2 separate regions of the Homo sapiens genome follow, and region 2 is linked to region 1. The links are contacts of gene promoters, found by promoter capture Hi-C in blood cells and fetal thymus (Javierre and others, 2016). All regions are on one chromosome and are shown on one strand. The core of a region is centred on a gene start or on the middle of the fragment in contact, and the rest is flanking DNA. Distances in the headings are between cores, read along the strand shown.

Region 1 (3,509 bases), core at 527-3,026:
TTGCAGTTAGCCAAGATCGCGCCACTGCACTCCAGCCTGGGCAACGGAGTGAGACTGTGTCTCAAAAAAATAAATAAAATAAAATAGAAATAAAATCTGGTCTAAGATGCCCTGCAGTTCTCATCTTGATCCATCTTCCTTCCAGTCCTCACAATGCAGCTGCAGTTCTACATTTCTATCTGCTGGATGTTACAAGCTATATTTCTTACGGGCATCTTAACTTCCCCCATCCAAACCCAAACAAATCAACTTCCCCCATCAAACCTGTTCCTTTTTCTAATTATTTTTCTCATTTCTATTCAATGTTAATACAACAAATATTTATTAAGCACATGGTGTGTGCTTGACTCTAAGCTAGGTACTCACTAGGTAGTGTTGAACAAAACAAACATGATCCCTGCCCACCTTCCAGTCTAATGAGGAATACAGACATAAAATGAATAACTAAATGATTACACAAGTAATCCATTAAAATCACAGTGGCAGTATTATTTTCCTAATAACCCAGGTTAAAAATCTCACTCATTTTTGCTTCTCCTTCAACATTTATAACCAATCAGTAAGTCTTTGAGTTTTCTTTCACCATAACTTAAAAATCCATCACTTTCCTTCATTCCCACTGCTACCAATTTTGTGTGGGCCTTTATTTCTTGTCTGATCTACGGTCTCCTAACTGGCCTTCTTGTTGCCCATTTACGCCACCACACACATCACTATTAGAATCATCAAGTATTGTCTCATGCCACAAATGGAAAAAAAATTTTTTTCAGTGGCTACTGTGTAACTGCTGATGGGTGTCTTCCCTTACATGCCTTGTCTTTCCCTGGTTTGCCAACTTTGCTCCTACCAATCTATCTGCCTGGAGCATGCTTAGTCTCCAAAGAAAATATGCTTATTACTCACACTCACTTCCTTGAAGCTCCTAGATCATCACCCCAACTAGAAATGATCACTTACTGTGAACTCTTCGGGTACACTAGCTCTATCACTCATTTACCACCTGTGTGTGATAATTTGTGCTTCATACAGCTCCTACTGGAGTGGTAAGATCCCTAATGGCAAAGATGTCTTAACCATCTTTCCGTCCCTAGGGATGCCTGGCACTAATGGTGTCTCCCTTGCCTGTATGCGGGGTTGGGGGGTGATTTCCATTAACTCTCTGGCCAGGTTCCAAACAGCTCTTACTACTCCCTGGATTCATTCTGGACCTGCTGGGGAAGCGCCAAGGACAATACCAGGGGCCAAGAACAAGATCAAAGGGGCACGGCAAGGAAGAAATGTGCATCCAATGAGTGCTAAACTGTAGATGCGATAAAGGCGTCAGGCAAGCACTGACCTGCTCCAGCAGATAGATGAGCTGGTCTCGAGCCAGCCTCTTCAGCATGGAGAAGTCAGGCAGCTCAGGGGCGTCCGGCCGATGGGGAAAAGCCATGGCAGCGGTCACCTGCGCCGCGGGGTGGAAGGACGCCCTTCGTTCTGAGAAGGCCGGCCGCAGCCCAGGGAAGCGCAAGGGGGGCTATCCTTCAGGCCTGGGCACCGACTTCCAGAGACCCCAGATGGGCCCTCGCTCCTCAGCAGCACTCCAGGAATGAATGGCCACCTCCAGGCAAGAGAGCTACTACCTCGGAGCAGCCTTGTCTCAGACCTGCAGCCACCGTGTCTCGACCCTCCCTCCCTGATCCACTCTGCCCGTCAGCAGGATTCCGGTCTACACCCCGCAGAGACTCCGCAGCGTACGAGGAGAACCCCGCCTTCTACCAGAAAAAGAAGCGACTTCCTAGATCTCCCGGAAGTCCCTTTCGCTCCCAGCGCTTCGCGTACCAGGAAGGGGACGGCGTCCTGAAAGGGACATTTGAAAAACGGAGGCAACGCGTCTATTAATTAGGTGGCGGCGCCTGGGGTCGCAGCACTCCAGAGGCTGAGGTGGGAGAATCGCTCGAGTCAGGGAGGCGGAGGTTGCAGTGAACTGCGATCGCGCTACTGCACCCCAGCCTGGGCAACAAAGCTAGACCTTGCCTCAAAAAAAAAAAAAAAAAAAAAAAAAAAGACATAATGAATGCATCAGGCTAGCTAACAATACCTCAACTCTGATCAATCATACCATCATATCATTTCCTGGTGAGATGCATAGGAAATACAGAGCATCACCTATTGCCAAAAATTGAACCTAATCAAGCCTCAAGATCTAACTACCAGTTTATAGGCTATATAGAGATTAGCAGGAATATGTTAAGACACCAAAGGTATGAAATCAACCATATCCAAAATGTAGGAAATTATATGGGACAAATGATCTGTCGTCTTCAAAAAAATGGCAAAGTGGGAAATGTGGGAGGGGAAAACACTTCAGAATAAAAGAGATTTAAGAGATGTATCAACAAAATGTTTCAATGTGTGGATCTTTTTTGGATAATAATTCAAAGATAACTGATTTAAGGAATTACTAAAACTTTTCGGGTATTGTATTTCTTTTCTTCTCTTTTTTTTCCTGACAGAGTCTCGCCCTTTTGCCTAGTGGAGGAGCTCGGCTCACTGCAAGCTCCGCGCCACAACCCCCCTGCCGCCCCAGGTTCAAGAGATTCTCCTGCCTCAGTCTCCCGAGTAGACTGGGATTACAGGCGAGTGCCACCATGCCCGGCTAATTTTTGTATTTTTGGTAGAGACGGGGTTTCATTATGTTGGCCAGGCTGATCTCGAACTCCTGACCTCAAGTGATCCGCCTGCCTTGGCCTCCCAAAGTGCTGGGATTACAGGCGTGAGCCACAACGTTGGGCCAGGTATTGTATTTCTATGTTATTATTATTTTTTGTATTTCTATGTCATACAGGCTTGTATTTCTGTTAAAAACAAGTCCTTATCTCTTTGAGATACATACTGAAGTTTTTACAGGTGAAATAATTTGGCCAGGAGTAATGGTTCATGTCTCTAATTCCCACCACTTTGGGAGGTCCAGGTCGGGGTCGGGGGGTTGCTTGAGGCCAGGAGTTTGAGATAAGATTGGTCAACTACAACACATAAAAAATAGCCAGGCATGGTGGTGGGCACCTTTAATCTCGATACTTGGGAGGCTGAGGCAGGAGGATCACTTGAGCCCAGGAGTTTGAGGCTGCAGTGCGCTACGATCATGCTACAGCACCCCAGCCTGGGCAACAGAGTGAGACACCGTTTGTTTTTTCTTTTCTTTTTTTTTTTTTGAGACAAGGTCTGGCTTTATCTATCACCCAGGCTGGAGTGCAGTGATATGTTCTGTCTCTTTTTTTTTTGAGATGGAGTTTCGCTCTTGTTGCTCAGGCTGGAGTGCAATGGCACGATCTCAGCTCACTGCAACCTCCACCTCCCAGGTTCAAGCGTTTCTCCTGCTGCAGCCTCCTGAGTAGCTGGGATTACAGGCATGTGCCACGCACCCAGCTAATTTTGTATTTTTAGTAGAGACAGAGTTTCTCCATGTTGGTCAGGCTGGTCTTGAACTCCTGACCTCAGGTGATCTTCCCGCCTCAGTCTCCCAAAAT
Region 2 (3,861 bases), core at 423-2,922, 580 kb before region 1:
CATGTCTACTTTTTATATTAGCCAGTGATACGGTTGTAGCACCTTTAATTTACCACTGAAAGACATTAAAAGCTAAGTCAGTGTTCCTGGTACTGTGAAAGCAACTGTATTAGTCCGTTCTTGTACTGCTATAAAGAAATACCTGAGACTGGGTAATTCATAAAGAAAAGAGGTTTAACTGGCTTAAGGTTCCACAGCCTGTACAAGAAGCATGGCTGGGGAGACCTCCTCAGGAAACTTACAATCATGGTAGAAGACAAAGAGGAAGCAGTCACGTCTCACGTGGCAGGAACAAGAGGAAGAGAGAGGTGGGGAGGTGCTTACATACTTTTAAAAAACCAAATCTAGCGATAACTCACTCACTGTTAGGAGAACAGCACCAAGGGGGAAACCTGCCCCCATTGATCCAATCACCTCTCACCAGGCCCCCACCTGGGGATTACAATTTGACATGAGATTTGGACAGGGACACAGACCCAAACCATATCAGCAACATTCTTGAACTTTCTTAAAATTTCTTGTTCGCTATTTCCAAGTAGGAATAAATGAGAAAGAAATTCTTGGAGAAAAATATTCTCTTAATTAAGAATGCAGATGTGATGTATTAGTGAGAAAAATATATAAAAAATATATAAAAATGTATAAAAATATATAGAAAGTTATTAGTTATTTTGCTTTGGAATTTCTTTTTTAAAGAGGCAGGGTCTTACTCTTTTGCCTAGGCTGGAACGCAGAGGTGTGATCTTGACTCATTGTAACAACCTCCCAGGCACAAGCTATCCTCCTGCCTTAGCCTCCCAAATGGCTAGGACTACAGGCATGCACCACCATACCTGGCTAATTAAGAAATTTTTTTTGTAGAGACAAGTCTTGCTATGTTGCTCAAGCTGTTTTGAATTCCTGACCTCAAGCTATCCTCCTGCCTCTCTTTCTCAAAGTACTGGAATTACAGGTGTGAGCCACTACACCCAGTCTGGAGAATTTTTTGAATACATTTAAAATCTTCTGAGACAGGCGCTTTATATATCCATCTTGAGTCTTTTACCTGAAAGAAAAGCATTTAATCATATACACATGACTTATACTTGCACTTCTCTGAGAAAATGTTTAGCTTCTGTGGATGTATAAATTCTAGTGTGTTTTGAGAATACTTGATTTTTGTTTTTCTATTATACATTTGGGTTTATTATATACAATTTAAATTTTGATCAGTTCTGTGATTGCAGTGTACATGATGCGTGTTTGTATTTAGATGATATTGAGGTTTATAGATTATTTACAAAAACTGTATACCACTTTAAGTTTCTATGATTTATTTCTTATATATTTCTTATTTCCCTGCTTACTTTAAACTGTCAATATCTTGCTTTTGTCAGTATCTGTAAAGTACCCTTCTGATCTCTTCTAATTTATTGATTCTGATCAGTTAGGGCTTTAGAATCCACTTAATAACACAGGCTTATGGACATTAATTTATCCGTCCATCCATCTGTCAAATATTGATTAATGTTTATTAATATATGCTAGGCTCTGGGTAAACATTAGTGAATGAGCCCTGTATTGTCCCTGCTTTCATGAAGCTTAGAGTCTAGTTGATTTTTTTTTAAGTTTAAAAAGTAAAAATAATTTTCACCAACCTGATAATTAAAAAGTAAAAATATATGAAATATTCTTTATCTAAAACTGTTAAATTACCTGGATTAAACTTTTCCATCAGTAATATGAATTCAGTTTAAGTAAGATTTGCCATCTGAATCATTTTTATGAAGCTTTTCTAAAATGTCTTATTATTTAAAACTTATTGATTACAGGAAGGCAAACAAATGAAGAGACACTTCACATTATATTAACATTAATGTTAACATCTTTTTTTTTTTTGAAACGGAATCTCACACTGTTGCCCAGGCTGGAGTACAGTGGTGTGATCTCGGCTCACTGCAGCCTTTGCCTCCCAGGTTCAAGCAATTCTCCTGCCTCAGCCTCCTGAATAGCTGGGATTACAGGCACATGCCACCACGCCTGGCTAATTTTTGTATTTTTAGTAGAGACAGGGTTTTGTCATGTTGGCCAGGCTGGTCTCAAGCTCCTGATGTCAGGTGATCCGCCCACCTCAGCCTCCCAAAGTGCTGGGATTACAGGCATGAGCCACTGTGCCTGGCCATTAACATCTAATTATGCATTGAGTTTGTGCCAGAACCGGGACTTTAATTTGTGCCTACTGATTTCTCCCAGTCCAGTGCTCTTTGCATTGTGTTATGTGACTTTTTAGGACAATGTTGTCATGTAAACTAAAAAAAAAAAACTGAGGTAAATAGCGTATTGTAACTACAAAGGAGACTGTCGTAGGTACTGGGAGTCTCAGTGTTCAGAATACTTCTATTTTATACTTCATGCTGATTTTCGCCTTTTAAGGGTGGCAGCTAGGCACAGCTGGGAGGCCTAACCTTTTGCATATTGTATCTTCTAGTTTGTACCTGTTCAAGCTAGGCCTGGCCCCTCAGATTCAAGACCTATATGGAAAGGTTGACTTCACAGGTAAGGAGTTAGATACTTGGCAGGAAATGCTTGAATTATGTGGAAATAGCCTGGAGAGCCAGCAGTACCAATTTTGAAGACCTAGGGCTTTAAAAATACACTGGCAGTGGAGGTGAAAAAAATACGAATAACTTGCTTCTCTAATGTGGGGTAAAGAACACTAAACTTGAAATTTCAAGCTCTGTTCTCTCACTTAATAATGTGAACATGATTAGTGAGTCTCAGTTTTCTTATATGTAAATTGGGGATAACATTAACATATATAAAACATAATAATGTTAACACATAACACTAAATGTTCGGGTATGTTGAAAAAAGCTTTATAACTATCTTTCCCTTTCCATTCCAGCAAGCATCTGTTGTGGGCAAAGCAAGAGGGAGAGTGGGGAGTGAGATGACACAAAGATGCCAATTTAGTAATTTTAAAATTTAAGCTTATTTGGGTGGGTGTTTCTATGTGTATTTGCTATAGCCAGATGCTTGAAGAGATGAGGGGTTGGGGAGAAAAAGGGCAGTGGTAATACTGTTTAAGGGTAAGATAGATTCAAGTCTTTCAAAGTGGTGATTATTTTGTAGGCTTGAAAGTTTAAAAATTGGTAAGAAAGTTTTTGTCCATGATATTTTTTCCTTCCAGGGAAGTTATTCACCAGACCTGGGGAAAGGACCAGACCTTACATGTTTTCTTTATCATTTGGCTTTCTGCCTTAGAAATGAAATTGTTGAATAGCAGCTAATGATTGTAAAGACTGAGATAACTGACTTAGTTTGTGATTCACTTATTGTTGAGCTCACGTTAAAGCTGTTCCATTTATAAGTTCATTGTAGGAAATGCCATAAGTAGCAATTTTGAAAAACTATTTCCTGTAGGACCTTCTCACTTTATAGTTATTTTTGATGCCCTTGATAATAATAACGTTTGACTACATTTTATATACTAGTTACTGTGTTAAGTGCTTTCCATACATTGTATCTTTATATCCTTATAAAACCCTAAAAGGTAAATGCCATTTTATCCCATTGCATAGTTGAGGAATATGTTTCCTTCTCTTGGTTATGGAAGGGTGCTTAGCTTGATTGACTGATTATTAATTCCCTCCTGTAGAAGAAGAAATCAACAACATGAAGACTGAGTTGGAGAAGTATGGCATCCAGATGCCTGCCTTTAGCAAGATTGGGGGCATCTTGGCTAATGAACTGTCAGTGGATGAAGCCGCATGTAAGAAGAGAGAAATTTTGTGGGTTCAACTGGGATTGTTGCCACTATTTCCAATAATTAATTCTATAGTGATGATCTAGGACATTATGAATCTTGCCAGCAAGTTTAAG

The links. The method cuts DNA at HindIII sites, captures the fragments that hold promoters and counts their contacts. A CHiCAGO score of 5 or more calls a contact.
Region 2: a fragment that was not itself captured here is called in contact with the fragment with the promoter of VPS33B in region 1 in 1 of 17 cell types (total B cells); the score reaches 5.9 in total B cells.

Annotation. Positions count from the first base shown.
Region 1 is chr15:91,020,818-91,024,326 of GRCh38, forward strand. It overlaps VPS33B (VPS33B late endosome and lysosome associated), which reads right to left and starts at 1,777. Exons shown (of 23, transcript NM_018668.5): 1 at 1,337-1,777. The coding sequence starts at 1,432. It overlaps VPS33B-DT (VPS33B divergent transcript), which reads left to right and starts at 1,805. Exons shown (of 4, transcript NR_110104.1): 1 at 1,805-1,923; 2 at 2,496-3,154. RefSeq lists enhancers at 861-1,477, 1,332-1,741. The HindIII fragment of the contact is 24,262 bases long and covers 1-3,509 here.
Region 2 is chr15:90,436,865-90,440,725 of GRCh38, forward strand. IQGAP1 (IQ motif containing GTPase activating protein 1) reads left to right here. Exons shown (of 38, transcript NM_003870.4): 6 at 2,468-2,535; 7 at 3,638-3,751. Among named protein-coding and RNA genes, the nearest start is that of IQGAP1, 51 kb to the left of the region's middle. RefSeq lists a silencer at 200-400. The HindIII fragment of the contact is 189 bases long and covers 1,579-1,767 here.